Regions from separate parts of the Homo sapiens genome. Here regions 1 and 3 are each linked to region 2. Evidence: promoter capture Hi-C in 16 types of primary human blood cells and fetal thymus (Javierre and others, 2016). All regions are on one chromosome and are shown on one strand. The core of a region is centred on a gene start or on the middle of the fragment in contact, and the rest is flanking DNA. Distances in the headings are between cores, read along the strand shown.

What was found. The method cuts DNA at HindIII sites, captures the fragments that hold promoters and counts their contacts. A CHiCAGO score of 5 or more calls a contact.
Region 1: a contact is called between a fragment that was not itself captured here and the fragment with the promoter of XPNPEP1 in region 2, in 1 of 17 cell types (total CD4 T cells). The highest score is 6.1, in total CD4 T cells.
Region 3: a fragment that was not itself captured here is called in contact with the fragment with the promoter of XPNPEP1 in region 2 in 1 of 17 cell types (total B cells); the score reaches 5.5 in total B cells.

Annotation. Positions count from the first base shown.
Region 1 is chr10:112,181,672-112,186,424 of GRCh38, forward strand. It overlaps GPAM (glycerol-3-phosphate acyltransferase, mitochondrial), which reads right to left and starts at 2,094. Exons shown (of 22, transcript NM_001244949.2): 1 at 2,022-2,094; 2 at 1,123-1,220; 3 at 12-142. The coding sequence starts at 113. RefSeq lists a silencer at 2,012-2,241. The HindIII fragment of the contact is 4,662 bases long and covers 786-4,753 here.
Region 2 is chr10:109,919,999-109,924,865 of GRCh38, forward strand. XPNPEP1 (X-prolyl aminopeptidase 1) reads right to left here and starts at 3,513. Exons shown (of 21, transcript NM_020383.4): 1 at 3,404-3,513. The coding sequence starts at 3,435. RefSeq lists a silencer at 3,189-3,728. The HindIII fragment of the contact is 9,615 bases long and covers 1-3,920 here.
Region 3 is chr10:112,372,488-112,377,191 of GRCh38, forward strand. ACSL5 (acyl-CoA synthetase long chain family member 5) reads left to right here and starts at 1,629. Exons shown (of 21, transcript NM_203379.2): 1 at 1,629-1,782. RefSeq lists enhancers at 3,330-3,479, 3,361-3,861, 3,620-3,839, 3,862-4,362. The HindIII fragment of the contact is 494 bases long and covers 2,432-2,925 here.

The DNA.
Region 1 (4,753 bases), core at 1,867-4,366, 2.3 Mb after region 2:
CCTAAACTTACCCATTCCTCACTTGTGTGCTTACATCGACCAACACTGTATTCTGATGAATGTGGCAGATAAGAAACATCTATTGTACCAAGGGTCAGTGCAGATTCATCCATGTCACAAAGTGTAATTCCCAAATCATGTGCTATAAAAAATAGGTACCATTTAAATTAACAAGGAATCGAGAGAGTAAATACTAGAACTCAAAATTCTGATTTCTACATTACTTTGCTCCACAATGGGATATCACATGAACTGACAGACTTCTACCATGTTGAGTCACAAGGTAAAAACTGACTTTGATGTGTTTATATGAACACAGTTAGGCTTCCCTGACTAGAAAAAAAAAAAATCAGCATTTGTATTCTAAGACTTCCTGAATATATAAGGATACAACATTGTATCCTTTGTATCCACACAAAATAGCTATGAATAGTATCCAAACAAAACATAGTATGCAAACAAAATAGTATCCAAACAAAATAGCTATGAATTGTATCCAAACAAAATAGCTATGAATAGTCATTTGCAAATGAAAATAAGAGCTTATTCTTATTTCATTTTTGTTAATTGAATAGTTCCTGGCAGAAGGAAGGCATGTTTATTTAATTAAGGCAATTAGGGCACCCCTTAAGTTCCCGTACTTAAATTAAGATCTTAATTTTCTTGTGATGTCCTAAAAGAACATTTTCACTTTTAATACAAAGGTAATACAAAGCTACAAAGCTCTGAAAGAAAAGCACACTATTTTGAAATATCTGATGTATAAGTTTTCATCCTTTTCGATAAGCTTTTTTCTACCCTAAGGAAAAAGATTCACTAAGAGTAAACTCCTAGAATAGATATTAATCCAAAATATAAAAACTTTCAAACATAATCTCTAGCCTCACATTATTTTTGCTTTTGGCTGTTTCTCACCTGGCCTAAAATTATTCCTTTAAAATCCTGAAAGGTCATGTCTAGATTAACAGTGTTCCTTTGGAAGGCATATTCCAATTTCTTTACAATCCCCACATGGGTTGGCTACAGTCACTGTTATTCTCGGCATAACCACCTATGTCCTTAAAAATTTAACATAAGTACAATCTAACATAACAGGCTAGGGGAGAGAATAAACCAATGCACCTGGGATGAAAGTTCTTCTGTTTCATAACATAAAACTTCAGGACTCAGCTATCAGTTTCGGGTGCAGAATGTCCATACAACAGGGGAGCCGCTGCTGCCTGAGAAAATGAAGTGAAGAGAGGATGAGGAGAGGACAAAGAGGCTCGTTTGTGCCAACAGGAGGTCCACGTTTTGCACTTCCTCCCTCCGCACAGTTCGCTCTAGGTCAAGGAGTAATAAAGAAGCAATATCCCAGAGGCACCAGCCAGCAGCATGCGCTGAGAGAAGCTGACTAGAGGATCTGAAAAGGACAGAGGCTGGAAGACCAGCTGTGAGGTTTAAATCTTCCACTGCTTACCATCTGTGTGATTTTTTATTACCATAAGTTGGTTAACTTCTATGCCTTAGTTTTCCCATCTGGAAAATGGGCAGAATGATAGCTCTTAACCTCCTGGATTGTTGAGAGGACGGAATAATATAAACAAAGGGTCTACCACAGTGTGTAACACACAGTGAGCGCTCAGTCCAATCAATGGTAACGCTGTCATTAATTATCTCCAGCATACCGGCTGCTCTCAGAGTACCCCTTACTGCCTCAATGTTCCCTAGGGACCCAGGCGGGCTGGCTGGCGGCGCCTCCGCGCGTGCAGATACTTAGGGGACTGAGTCCATAAGGACTCCTTCCAACCCAGGGGAACCCATGCCCCAGCGCAGTCTCCCCAGGAGAGATGAATCCTGATCCCCACCCCTGCACGAGCCCGACCGATTTCTCAGGGAGAAGACCGGAGCTCGGGTGTCAGGGAATAGGGGACACGACTGCCCCAGCAACTTGCAGGAGTCGCACCACCTCCATGCACTTGTCCCGGCGCTCCCGGCCCGAGTAGCCTCCCGCAGCCCACACCTGCCCTGGCAGTTCGCACCCTAGCAGCTCCAGCTTCGGCTGCTGCAGAAGCCCGCACTTCCAGTCCCGGCCAATGCCAGCTGCAGTGGCGCACCCTGATGACGCAACCGGCGCGTGGCATTGACGCGGGGCCGCCGGCTAGCCAGCGCCGGGGGCGGGGCCCGGCCTGCGAGCCTCAGGGAGCGTGAGCGGATCCGAGGGTGTAATGTGTGTACTCGAGTGTGCGTGCCTGTGTGTGGCTAAAGATAGTGTGTGAGCGCCTGGACAGATGGTTACCCTGCCTAGGCCATGCGTGTGTGAGTGTGTGTGGGTACCTCATTCTGCTTTGTGTAAATTCAGCTTATCCGGGAGCTTGTCCCTCTTCCAGGCTCTGTTGGGAATGTGCGCGTGGGCTATCAGGTTATGTGTGTGGTCTGACTTTTTATGAGATCTGTAAGACTATGTAGGATTTACTACGAATGGGAGAGGCAGGGATTGCAAATGGCCATGTTGTGTAATTTCTACCAAAGTGGCTGAGTGCCTTTTCCTTTAAGGAGGAAAATGAGATATGAAAAGAAGCAAATAAGGCTTGTAGTATAAAAAGCCTCAGTTAGGAGAAATAAGGGCTTTTTTCCCCCTTCGGACTATATGTTACACAGCATGGTGAATATAGTAAATAATAATGTATTATACAGTTCAAAATCGCTAAGAGTACATTTCAAAAGTTCTCACCATGAAAACTGAGAAGTATTTGAGGTGGATATGTCAATTAGCTTGATTCAGTTATTCCACATTGTATTCATAAGTCATAACATCGATTTGTACCCCCTAAATATATGCAACTATTTAGATAGTTTAAAATTTATAGCAATCCAGTCTAGCCAGCTAAGATGGAGCAACAGGACTGAATTTACTCTCCTGCCTAAAACAACTAAAAACAAAAACAAACAGGCATTTATAAGACAATGGCTTTTAAACGTTGTGCTGGACAGTGGTCCTTGAGGAGGGAAAACAAATGAGGTGAGCCCTATGATTGCCTTGATTTACTAACTAGAGGGAGCAGCCAAAAAGAGCTAGGCAGACTCCCTGAGTTGAAGAGATAGAACTGGGAGAGCAGGGAGGCCAAAGCAGCTGGAACTGTGAGTTGTATATCAGAAAGGAGAAAGCTACACAGAGAAAGAAGGAGCTGTGGAGATCTACAACAGATCTCACTCCAGTCTTCCGCTGATTAGAGCATGTGTGTGAGGAAGCTACCTAAGGGCAGGAAATAATCATGTATGAAGAAAAGAGAGAGCAATTACTAAAGTTTGCACAGGGTAGGAAATTAATTCTGCTCCCACAAGGCAGAGTAGAAAGATACCCAGTGATTATACAGGACCAGAAATAGTGCCTGATCCTGGCACCCCGACTGGAAAACCTCATAATTCACAACTCAAATGGTTTTGCTTCAGTAGTGGGGCAAAATTAGCTCTAATGTAAAAGCTACTCTGATTCTATCTTAGAAATCTTAAAAGCCAGCCACCAAAGGATTAAACCGTTTTTGAGAACAAAGTGTCCCAGAGCAAAGCACAAGAATATTTACAGGAAATTAAAAATAACCAACACCTAACAAGGTAAAATTTGCAACATCTGGAATCCAAACAGAATTATCAGGCATGCGAAAAGAAGCAGGAAATGAGAAAAAAAAATCAACCAATTGAAATCATCCCAGAAATGACAGAGATGATAAAATAAGAGAACAAGGACATTAAGAAAGTAATTATGACTGTATTCAATGTTTTCAACAAGTAGAAAAAATAAACTGAGCATGGGAAGTAGAGATGTGAAAAATCTTTAAAAAAAAAAAAGACACAAACCAAACATCTAGGAGATAATAAAACCACATCTAAGATTTTTAACACCCTAACACACACACACAGACACACACACACACACACACACACACACACACACACACACACACAGGATTAATAGGTTAGACATTACTAAAAAAGAAACAGTAAAAAACCTGACGGGAGGCTGAGGCAGGAGAATGGCGTGAACCCAGGAGGCAGAGCTTGCAGTGAGCCAAGATTGTGCCACTGCACTCCAGCTTGGGTGACAGAGCGAGACTCTGTCTCAAAAACAAAAACAAACAAACAAAAAAAAACTTGAAAGCATTGTGATAGAAACTATCCAAAATGAAACACTAAGGGAAGAAAAATACTGAAAGTAAAAGTAGAGTATCAGTGAGCCTAGTATACATGCAATTGTAGTCCCTGAAGAAAATGAGAAATATGAGGTGAGAATAGATTAGGGAGGACAGAAAAAAGCATTTGAAAGAATAATTGATGAAAACTTTCCAAATTTGACCAAAACTATAAACTTATAAACCCAAAAAGCTCAACAAACTCAGTAGAAACATGAAGAAAACCATACCAAGAAACATCACAATCAAAATGCCTAAAGCCACTGATAAAGAGAAAATCTTAAAAGCTATCAGAGAGAAAAAAAAAGACATTACTGTACAGAGGAACAAAGATAAGAATGACAGCAGATTTCACATCAGAAAAATGCAAACCAGAAGATGGTGGAGCAGCATCTGAAGTACTGAATGAAGAACCTATCAATCAAGAGTTCTTTTTATATTAATATATGGTATGTACATTTTATATATTTTTATATATATCAAAAAAATAAAATAAAAACATATTTTGACATCGAATTGCCAAAAGAATTCATCACCAGCAGGACCGTTCTATAAGCAATGTTAAAGAAAGTCTTTCAGGCAAA
Region 2 (4,867 bases), core at 2,263-4,762:
TCCAGCCTGGCAACAGAGCAAGACTCCGTCTCATTTAAAAAAAAAAAAAGAAAGAAAAGAAAGAAATCACACCTATGACATAGGTGAACCTTGAAAACATGCTAAGGGAAAAAGCCTAATACAAAAGACCACATAGTATATGATTCTATTCACATAAAATGTCCAGAATAGGCAAATCGGTAAAGACAGGAAGTAGACATGCAGTGTTGGTGGTTGCCAAGGGCTGAGGTGAGGAGTGACTGATTACAGGTAACAGGATTTCTTTCGGGGATGAAGAAAATGTTCTAAAATGATTGTGATGATAGTTGTACAACTCTGTGACTATACTAATAACTTGAATTGTACATTTTAACAGATGAATTGTATATAAGTGAATTATATCTCAATAAAGCCATTATAAATTTTATAACATCTCTTTCTTGTGGACAGGGATACAAGTCAGATTCTCACCGAATTTCCCATTACTTCATACGTAAGTTTCTAAGATGGTAAGTAACTGATCCCAATGACTGGTTCAGACACATGACTACAGAGGTGGAAGGTTATCATTTTTTTAGAGACAGGGTCTTGCTGTGTCACTCAGGCTGGAGTGCAGTGGCACAATCTTAGCTTATGGCAGCCTCAAACTCCTAAGCTCAAGCAATTCTCCTGCCTCAATCTCCCAAGGACCTAGGACTACAGGTATGTGCCATCACACCAACCTGATTTTTTTTTTTTAATAATTTTCTGAAGAGACAGGATCTCACCACATTGCCCAGTCTGGTCTCAAACTCCTGGCCTCAAGTGATCCTCCCACCTCAGCCTCCCAAAGTGCTGGGACTATAGGTGTGAGCCACCGTGCCTAGCCAAGGTTACCTTAAGGTAATCCTATTCATTCATTTTACAGAATAAAAAAACAAAGATAACTTACCATAGGCCATATAACTCAGTAGCCGCAAAGCCAAGACCAGAAACTAGGTCTGACAGGTGAGCTCAAACTCTCTGTGTGAGCATCAACACCTCCACCTTTCTGTCAGGATCACAGGAGCTACGAAGCAGCTCAATACTACAGCTGCTCTGTTCTTGTCGTATCTTGGTCTCCGCAGAGTCCAAGATCTATCCACCTTTCACTTGTTTGGACAGATAAAATTCTTAAGTTCTCTGTCAAAGCACAATTATCATTAAATATTAAGAACTAGAAGAATATACCTCAGGGACTATCCAACTCAATTCCCTCCTCTAGACCAGGAAACCAAGAAACAAAGATCAAATGACTGGCTCAAGGCCTCACAGCTAACTGCTGACAGAGCTAGAACCAGCGTTCCAGCCTCCCAACATCCAGCTCAGTGCTCCTACCCTTCCCAGAACTTCTTCGACCTACACCTTCTCAACTTCATGATGAGCCACAAAGTGGGTAAGGGGCAAGAAGCATGCAGAGCACTTTCAATCTTTGTATAAGATGGTTATGGTAGCACTAGAAAAGGCCTTCTCCCTCTTTTTCCAAGAAATTCTGGCAGGGTTCTGAATACCTCACCCCCCTGCAACCCCCAGTTCATGGGAATCACACATGTGTAGCGTTCAGCATGGGGCAAAACAAGGAACAAGATGCTCAATCACACCTAGTGGATGAGACAAGGGTAAACTGGAACAAGTTCTAAGGTTGGGAAGTAAGCAATGTTGTCTTTGTCTACCCAGAATCCATCCCTCCTTTTGATGGGAACCTTGGTTTTCCTTTTGAGAATGTACCCTCTCCATTTCAGCCCAAGGGGTTCAAAGCAGTCTTATCCAAACACCTAACAGGCTCTGGGACCCAAAGCAGGTCAATCCCTCCCTCTGGCCATAATGATTGGTTCACAGATGAACATGAGAATTAAGGCAGCCCAGTGAGCATCAGATCAGGGACTTCTGCTCCATTAGGAAGGAGGGCTCAACTTCTCTGCTGGGGCTGTCAGCCTAGAACTGTCATAACCTGCCATAAGGAGAAAGTCTCCCTGAGAATGAAGCGGATACTGAATAAATCAGAGCCAAGAGATGATAAAGAGAAGTCTGAAGCCAATGTTGGTGGTGCTCCCGGATTCAGCCACACTAGAAGCCAGCTCAACCCCATTTTAGGTAAATCAATTTGAGTTCAGTTTCCATTACCGAAACTGAAAGAAGTGCTCACTTTTACAAGGAATGGCACTCAAATTCTACCAGTAGGGGAGGCGCCTGTGGAAAATGGCTTCCCCTCTCTCAGCCTTTCACTGGACTTTCCTTTGAGGTAAAAAAGACTCTACCAGCTGGTGTAGAAAAGACTCTTCTGCTCCTAAAAGGCTGTGAGTCTATAAATCTAGCACAGATCACCTTGGCCCCCTAAAGACCACCTGAGGCCTACAGCCTAACTCATCATTATCCACTTGCCTGACTCCATTTCCAGCACTTCACTTACAGGAAGCTCCTTCCAGATGGAAGTTCTCCACCCCTCCCACATACTTCCACAGGGTGGGTCTGGTTTTCTGCTCACCCTTAACAAGCTGTGGCAACGGCAAATCCAGGTCAAGGTAGGTTTGGGACCCCCCTACTCACAAACACAAGCAGGAGCCATGGTCTGTGTTCAGCAAGAAAGCCTGGCCATGCTGCAAAGTGAGTGCATTCATGTCTCAAGTGGTTAGCAGGTGGGTGACCCCTTGGGGATGGCCAGGGAGTCTGGCCTGTGGCCTCCATGAACTCTGAACACCTCTCTCCGTCTCCCACTTTGTCAGAGGCTCTGATAAGTACATCCTGGTTATGGCAGGGGAATAAACTAAAACATGTTTAACTTGAGGCCGGGAAATTATCTGTCTCACCCTCCTATGCCCAAGGAGAGCCCAGGGCAGGCTACTGGGGGGATTTTCCTGGAGATTATACCAAAATATTCCCTTACACAGCCTCTGAAACCATTTGGGTAGGGAGGGGCCCGCGACCGTCTATCCTTGTGGCGGTGACAGATCAGTAGAGTGAATTGCAGGAGTCAGTATTGTCGAGATTGTAACTTGAGGTTTAGATTCCTGGGTAACAGAAGCGAGGGCAAAGGCTCGCCCACCTCCCCGGACACGAAGAGGGGCCAACTTCCTCCAAGAACGGGGCCTTCCCGCGGGCCAGGAACTGTGACGGCCGCCGCCCCCTCAGGCCGAGTGCAGCAGTTCCGCGGGCATACGCGTCCAGGAACCAGACTCGGGCCGCCCCGTGCCCACCGACCCTCCGGAAACGAACCGGATCTCGCCCGGCCTCATGGACCCCTTCCCCCGGCTCCTGTTCCGGGGCTCCGGCGAGCGCGGCCCTCGCCAGACTGCGGCGGGCCGGGCTCCTCACCCGCGCGTCCCTGCCCGCCGAGGTGCAACACGCGCGGCCGCGCAGCGAGGGCTGCACGCTGCCCGGACGCCGGCTGCCGGCGGAGTGCCCTCACCTTACTCGCGGTGGCTTTCTGGAGGCTGCCATTCGGCGGTGACGTGCCCCAGCCCACGTCAGGGGAGCGCAGACCAGCTGATCACCCGCGGAAGGGCCGGCGCGAAGGAGGCGCGAGAGCCGGCGGGCGGGCGGGCGGGCTAGCGCCGGGTCGGCCACGCCCTCGCCCGTGGCGGGCGCTGGCGCCGCGGCCCCGCCCACACGCAGGCCCCGCCCACACTCCCGGACCTGGGGTTCGCGGCCGCAGCGCCTGCGGCCCAGAGCGGGGCCTGCCCTTCCACACCAGTCCGCATTGCCTCTCCCTGCAGCGAGCGGGGAAAGGACGCAGTGCTGCTGAGTGTCTTCATTTTTGTTCGTTTTTGTCGTCATTCCTCAAAGAGGAAAAAGGGCTTTGCCGAATAAAGGGGCTACTGTCCCAGGGATTTTCCGGCTTAATTTAGGAGGGCTGAGAAGAGAGGGACGTGGCCGGCTCCGGAAGAACCTCGACAGGGTCTTCGAGGCTTTGGAACAGGGTCTCAAGCTTTAGAAATGTCCCCAAAAGTATGTTCCCAGAGAGCTTCAAAATCCAGCTCTCCGCTCCGCTTGGATAGTAAATAGCCCCTTCAAACTTAACGTCCAAACGGAACTCCTGGAACTCCCAATGCACCGAAGCAAAGCAAAAACGTTCTCCACCAGTCTTCTTTGCCATCTCAATCAATGGCTACTCTATTCTTAAGAGGCAAAATTTAGGAATCCTCCCTGCCTCTTCTCTTTCACACCCCACATCTAATCTGCCAGCAAAATCTTGTTGGCCCTGCCTCCAAAATAGACCCCTAATCTGGCCGTGTCACACCACCTCCACCTCCTACCCTCTGATGTGCATCAGAGGGTTGTACCACCCCACCCGTGTGGTTACAGCAGCCCCCCAAATATCCCCTCACCATCCCGCACCTGCACAGTCCAGCCTGAACAAAGCCGCCAGACCAGTCCTTTGAAGCGTGACACCAGGTCACTTCTTTGCTCAGCACTTTCCATTAATTTCTCGTTTCACGCAGCATAAAAGCTCCATTTGATCTACCCCCAGCCACATTTCCTCCTGTTCTCACCTTCCTCACTCTTCTTCAGCTGAAATGGCCTCCTGGCTCTCCTTGAAAAAGCAGGGTACACTCATGTCCCAGGGCTTTTGGACTTGCTCATCCCCCAAATATTGAGGCTCCCTTCCTCATTTTCCTTCAAGTCTTCGTTCAAGTATCACCTACCCTGACCATCCTATTTAAATTTGTAAATCATTCCAATATTCCTAATCCGCCTTACCCTACTTCATTTTTTCCATAGCACTTACCACCTTTTAACAGGATTCTTTTAATGTACTTATGTGTACTGTATTCTTCCCCCTCTCCTGCCACCACCCACGCACACAACAAAACCATCAGTGCAGATTGTTTCTGTTTTGTTTAATGATGAACAATATCTAACATGTCATAAG
Region 3 (4,704 bases), core at 1,429-3,928, 2.5 Mb after region 2:
GCTGCTTTTATGAGCTGTAATGCTCACTGCAAAGGTCTGTAGCTTTACTCCTGAGCCAGCAAGACCACAAACCCACCAGAAGGAAGAAACTCTGAACACATCTGAACATCAGAAGGAACAAACTCTAGACACACCGCCTTTAAGAACTGTAACACTCACTGCGAGGGTCCGCGGCTTCATTCTGGTAGCTAAACATACACAGATCAATGGGGCAGCATAGGGGCCAAGGCACTGCAGGGGTTCTCATGACTCTGAGTCAGGTGCTGTCTTGACCGACTGGTTGTGTGATTCCAGAAGCCTTCTTTCACCTGAAAAGGCCTCACTGGCCTCACCTATACAGTAAGTTTGCACATCATCTCCAGGGTTTCTTTCATTTCTACCCACTGTTTTTGTTTAGTAATGATGCCTTGCAGTCCTAATGATCTTGGAATCAAGAATGGTGACTAGAGAACTTCAAAGTGGAAAGAGAGGCTGGGCATGGTGGCTCATGCCTATAATCCCAGCACTTCGGGAGGCCGAGGCAGGCAGATCACTTGAAGTCAGGAGTTCGAGACCAGCCTGGCCAACATGGTGAAACCCTGTCTCTGCTAAAAATACAAAAAAAAAAAAAAAAATTAGCCAGGCATTGTGGTGCATGCCTGTAATCCCAGCCACTCCAGAGGCTGAGGCAGGAGAATTGCTTGAACTCAGGAAGTGGAGGTTGCGGTGAGACTCCGTCTCAAAAAAAAAAAAAAAAAAAAAAAAGGAGAGAGTAGGATGGCTGAGCCATGACGCAGTAGCAATGCTTCTTTTTTTTTTTTTTTTTTTGAGACAGAGTCTCGCTGTGTCGCCCAGGCTGGAGTGCAGTGGCGCGATCTTGGCTCACTGCAAGCTCCACCTCCCGGGTTCACACCATTCTCCTGCCTCAGCCTCCCAAGTAGCTGGGACTACAGGGGCCCACCACCACGCCCGGCTAATTTTTTGTGTATTCAGTAGAGACGGGGTTTCACCGTGTTAGCCAGGAAGCAATGCTTCCTATTCTAGCGCCTTGCTAAACTATGTGTGCTGCAGACTGTGTTCGTGATTCCGAATCCTAAAAACAACCGTCCTAGGCTTGTCTCTCAGCCTAGACTCTAGACTGATTTGGCTCATTTGGTTGTCTTGGAGACGTTCTAATTCTGAAGGGGGCAGTGGTCCCTTCTAGAAGATAGCTGGTCTGCAAATGCACACCTCTGCTTAGTCTGAATCCTAAAGTTATAGCTTGAGCCAATTAAAGTGGCTTCTCATTTTTCTCTCACTCTGATCTCAAGGAGCCCTTTTTCTTCTAGTAATCTAGACCTTCCTCTTCCTATCACAGTCTCAAGGATTGTGCCCCCAAAGCAGATGCAAAGCCCTGTCTACCCCTTCTCCTTCCCCTGAGGTAGAGCTTTATCGAAGGTTTCTCTTGGTAAACGTTAGCTTTCTGAACTAAGGGCCGTCTTTTTTTTTTTTCCCGCTTAAGCCCATTGCATAACAATCTCTTGTTTTAATCTTTTGCCCAACACTGCTTTTCTTACTGTCAGAGGTTACTACAAGTGTTTGAACAGGTAACTTCTACCTTTGAACTTCTGTTGTGACAGATTCAAAGGTTCCAGGGGAGTGTGTTGGCCACTCTCAGGACAGTACACAGTAGCTTCGGGTGTGTCCCAGTCAGTCCTAGGAGCTGTGGAAAGAGTAGAAGTGCCTGAATGTGGTGCTGAATCAATACAGCCAGCTGTGAGGGGAGCACTTCCTGGACCCAGGAAGGGAGAGTCTTCTTCCAAGGTAAGCTGCAATGATACTACCTGCACTATATTGAATATATCTGTGAGATAGTAGGGAGGGGATTGGTGTGGGGAAAGAAAGTGGGATTTGTTATGCTCAACCTAAGGCTCTTTAATAACATGAAATTACATTTAGTTGAATAGTAATCTCAGCTGACTTGTGTGGGAGGCAAAGAAAAAAATCAGTTGGAAAAGGGGTGGAGATATATGAGCTATCCAAATGCTAGCAGGGGATGGAATTGGAAGGGAACACTGATTTTGGTAAGTGTACTAAAGCACACCAAGCCAGAATGTGGGTCTCCTTCATCTTCCATTAAGAAATTTCTGTCTCAGTGTAGTTAGAAGGATCGTGCGTCAGCTGCTGAGGGCAGAGAGTCCCATTTGGCAGACAGAGAGGAAGGGAATCAGCAGATATTCGATTAGGTGCTGGGGACTGTTCTGGGTAGATTATGTATGTTACTTCATTGGTGTATCTCATCCTATAAAGCAGGTGGTATCCTTCCCATTTCACAGAGGCATAGTGCGTCTCCAGGCTGTTAAACAGCATGGCCTAAGCTACATAGCTCCAAGGTGGTGTGGCTAGAATTTGAGACTTGATTGGTCAGTTTCCACAGCCTGCCCAATAATGCAGAATTGTTGTGGGTTGCCAAAGCTTTCAGTTACCCCCTGAAATCCTGAGGGTGTCACTCATGTGCACAGAGGATTGATAGGAATACAACTCTGATGGGCCTTTAGAATGACTCAACCTTCCTGAACTTGAGCATTTTTACTGGAGGAGGTCAATAAAAAAAAAAGAAATAAAACCTCATCTTCCCCTGGCCCTGAGCCCTTTGGTGAAGGAAGACAGCACCCGGTGAAGGGCTCAGAGGTATTAGTGTGGCTGAGATTCGACACCCACTCTGCCATCCTCTGCTCTCCTCTAGAGGAAGTTGCCTCTTGGGGAGCTGAGTTCCTGAAACTAAGCAAATGACAAGTGCTCCTCCAGCCGTGAGATGAGCCAGAGGATGGAATGCCACAGGCCCCACTTCGTCTCCCAGCCCTTCATCTTTCTTCCATGTCCAAAGGCGGCTCCCCAGAGGCCAAGGGCTCAGCTCTTGTGTTCTCTGAGACTGTGGCACAGCTCACCCTGGCTTCCTTAGTAGGAAGCTTTTAAGAACTGCTCTGTAGAAAGAACAAACCCTAATCTAGCTCCAGCAAAGAGCCAGGATCATGCTGAACTTCCTGTGAGCCTTCGTGGGGGATCGAGGCTGGAGAAAGTGCTGCTTCATTCTGAGGTATCTGTGAGGTGGGGAAGGGGCAGGAAAATTTGTCATTTCGGCTTCCTAATCTGAGAATGGTAGCTCCAGGGCCCCCCTGTAGCCACAGCCTTAGGCGGATCAAAAATGAGACTAATACAGGTCCTGGTAATACTGGGGGTGACCAAGGCGAAAGAATCGATTTTTAAGTTAAGTTTTGAGGTGTGACTGTATCAGAGGGAAAGAAACCATGCCAATTGAACGACTCACAGCCCTGTCGTTCCTGACTTGCTTATTTTCTTGGCTTTGCCAGAACTTCTTCAGAGACCAAGGCAGGCAGCTCTGGCGACTGGAGAGAGGCGGGGTAGAAGGTGTTTGTGTGGGTCTGAGGGCTGAGGTACCCTCTAGCCAGACTTTCCTGTCCTCCGAATCCAGCAGGGAACAGCGTCACCTCTGCCTCTGTGAGGCTTCTGATCTGAGGGGGCACCTCAAGTCATTTTAGTTTGTTTGTTTTCATCTTAGTTGAAAGATGATAGGCCACAGGAGGGCAGGGTCAACTGTGTTGAGGCAAGCTGGCTTTTGTGTCGGCCCTTAGGGGCTGAGGTGAAAGGCTTTGACACGGAGCCAGGGTAGCTTTGGCAGCTTCTCCCCTCCTGGTCAGAACACTTCCACTTTCAGTTGTGAAAAAAAAAATTAAAACCAGGAAGTGAAGTCCCCGAGCACGTTAGAAAGCCTGACATGGCCTGACTCGGGACAGCTCAGAGCAGGGCAGAACTGGGGACACTCTGGGCCGGCCTTCTGCCTGCATGGACGCTCTGAAGCCACCCTGTCTCTGGAGGAACCACGAGCGAGGGAAGAAGGACAGGGACTCGTGTGGCAGGAAGAACTCAGAGCCGGGAAGCCCCCATTCACTAGAAGCACTGAGAGATGCGGCCCCCTCGCAGGGTAAGGGGACCATCGAGGGGGTGTTATTCAGCAAGGGGGTCTTGTGAGGGTGTGACAGAGGCCAAGGGGGCATCCTGACCCCCGACTTTCTTTAAGCGACTTAGAATCAAGGGCCGGCTGAGTTCCACGGGCACATCATGCTGTCTCCCTCCTGGTCTCGGTCATGCCTTCAGACCCTGTGTCAGGAGGAGCAACGGGAAGGAAGGATGTGGGGCATGCATGGGGCTCACTTTCCTTCTCTCGACTCTCTTGGGGAAGGTGAACCAAAACAGAGACCTCTTTTTGTGGGTCTGAGCATCCAGCATAGCTCCCCTGAGGTGGGCTGGGGGTTTGCCCTCAATTTTATGTTGGGTAAGACTGATGAATGAGACCAATGGGGTGGGAGAGACAGATGAATGGAGCTGAGTGTATTTTAGGAAGTAAGGCCACAGGTTAAGTCTCAGGTGCTGCTTAATTCCTAAGTACTTCCTTCCCAATGCCCACTCCCTGAGGGTCCTAAGGTGAATCTCAAAGACCCTCAGGGAGTAAGCACTGGAAAGGGACTCTACCACTGGAGACCCTCAGGGAATAAGCACTGGAAAGGGACTCTACCACCGGAGACCCTCAGGGAATAAGCACTGGAAAGGGACTCTACCACCGGAGACCCTCAGGGAATAAGCACTGGAAAGGGACTCTACCACCGGGGCTTGGTACCTTCTGAGATATCAGCCTTTTTTTGGTGGTCTGAAAGGTAGAATTGAATC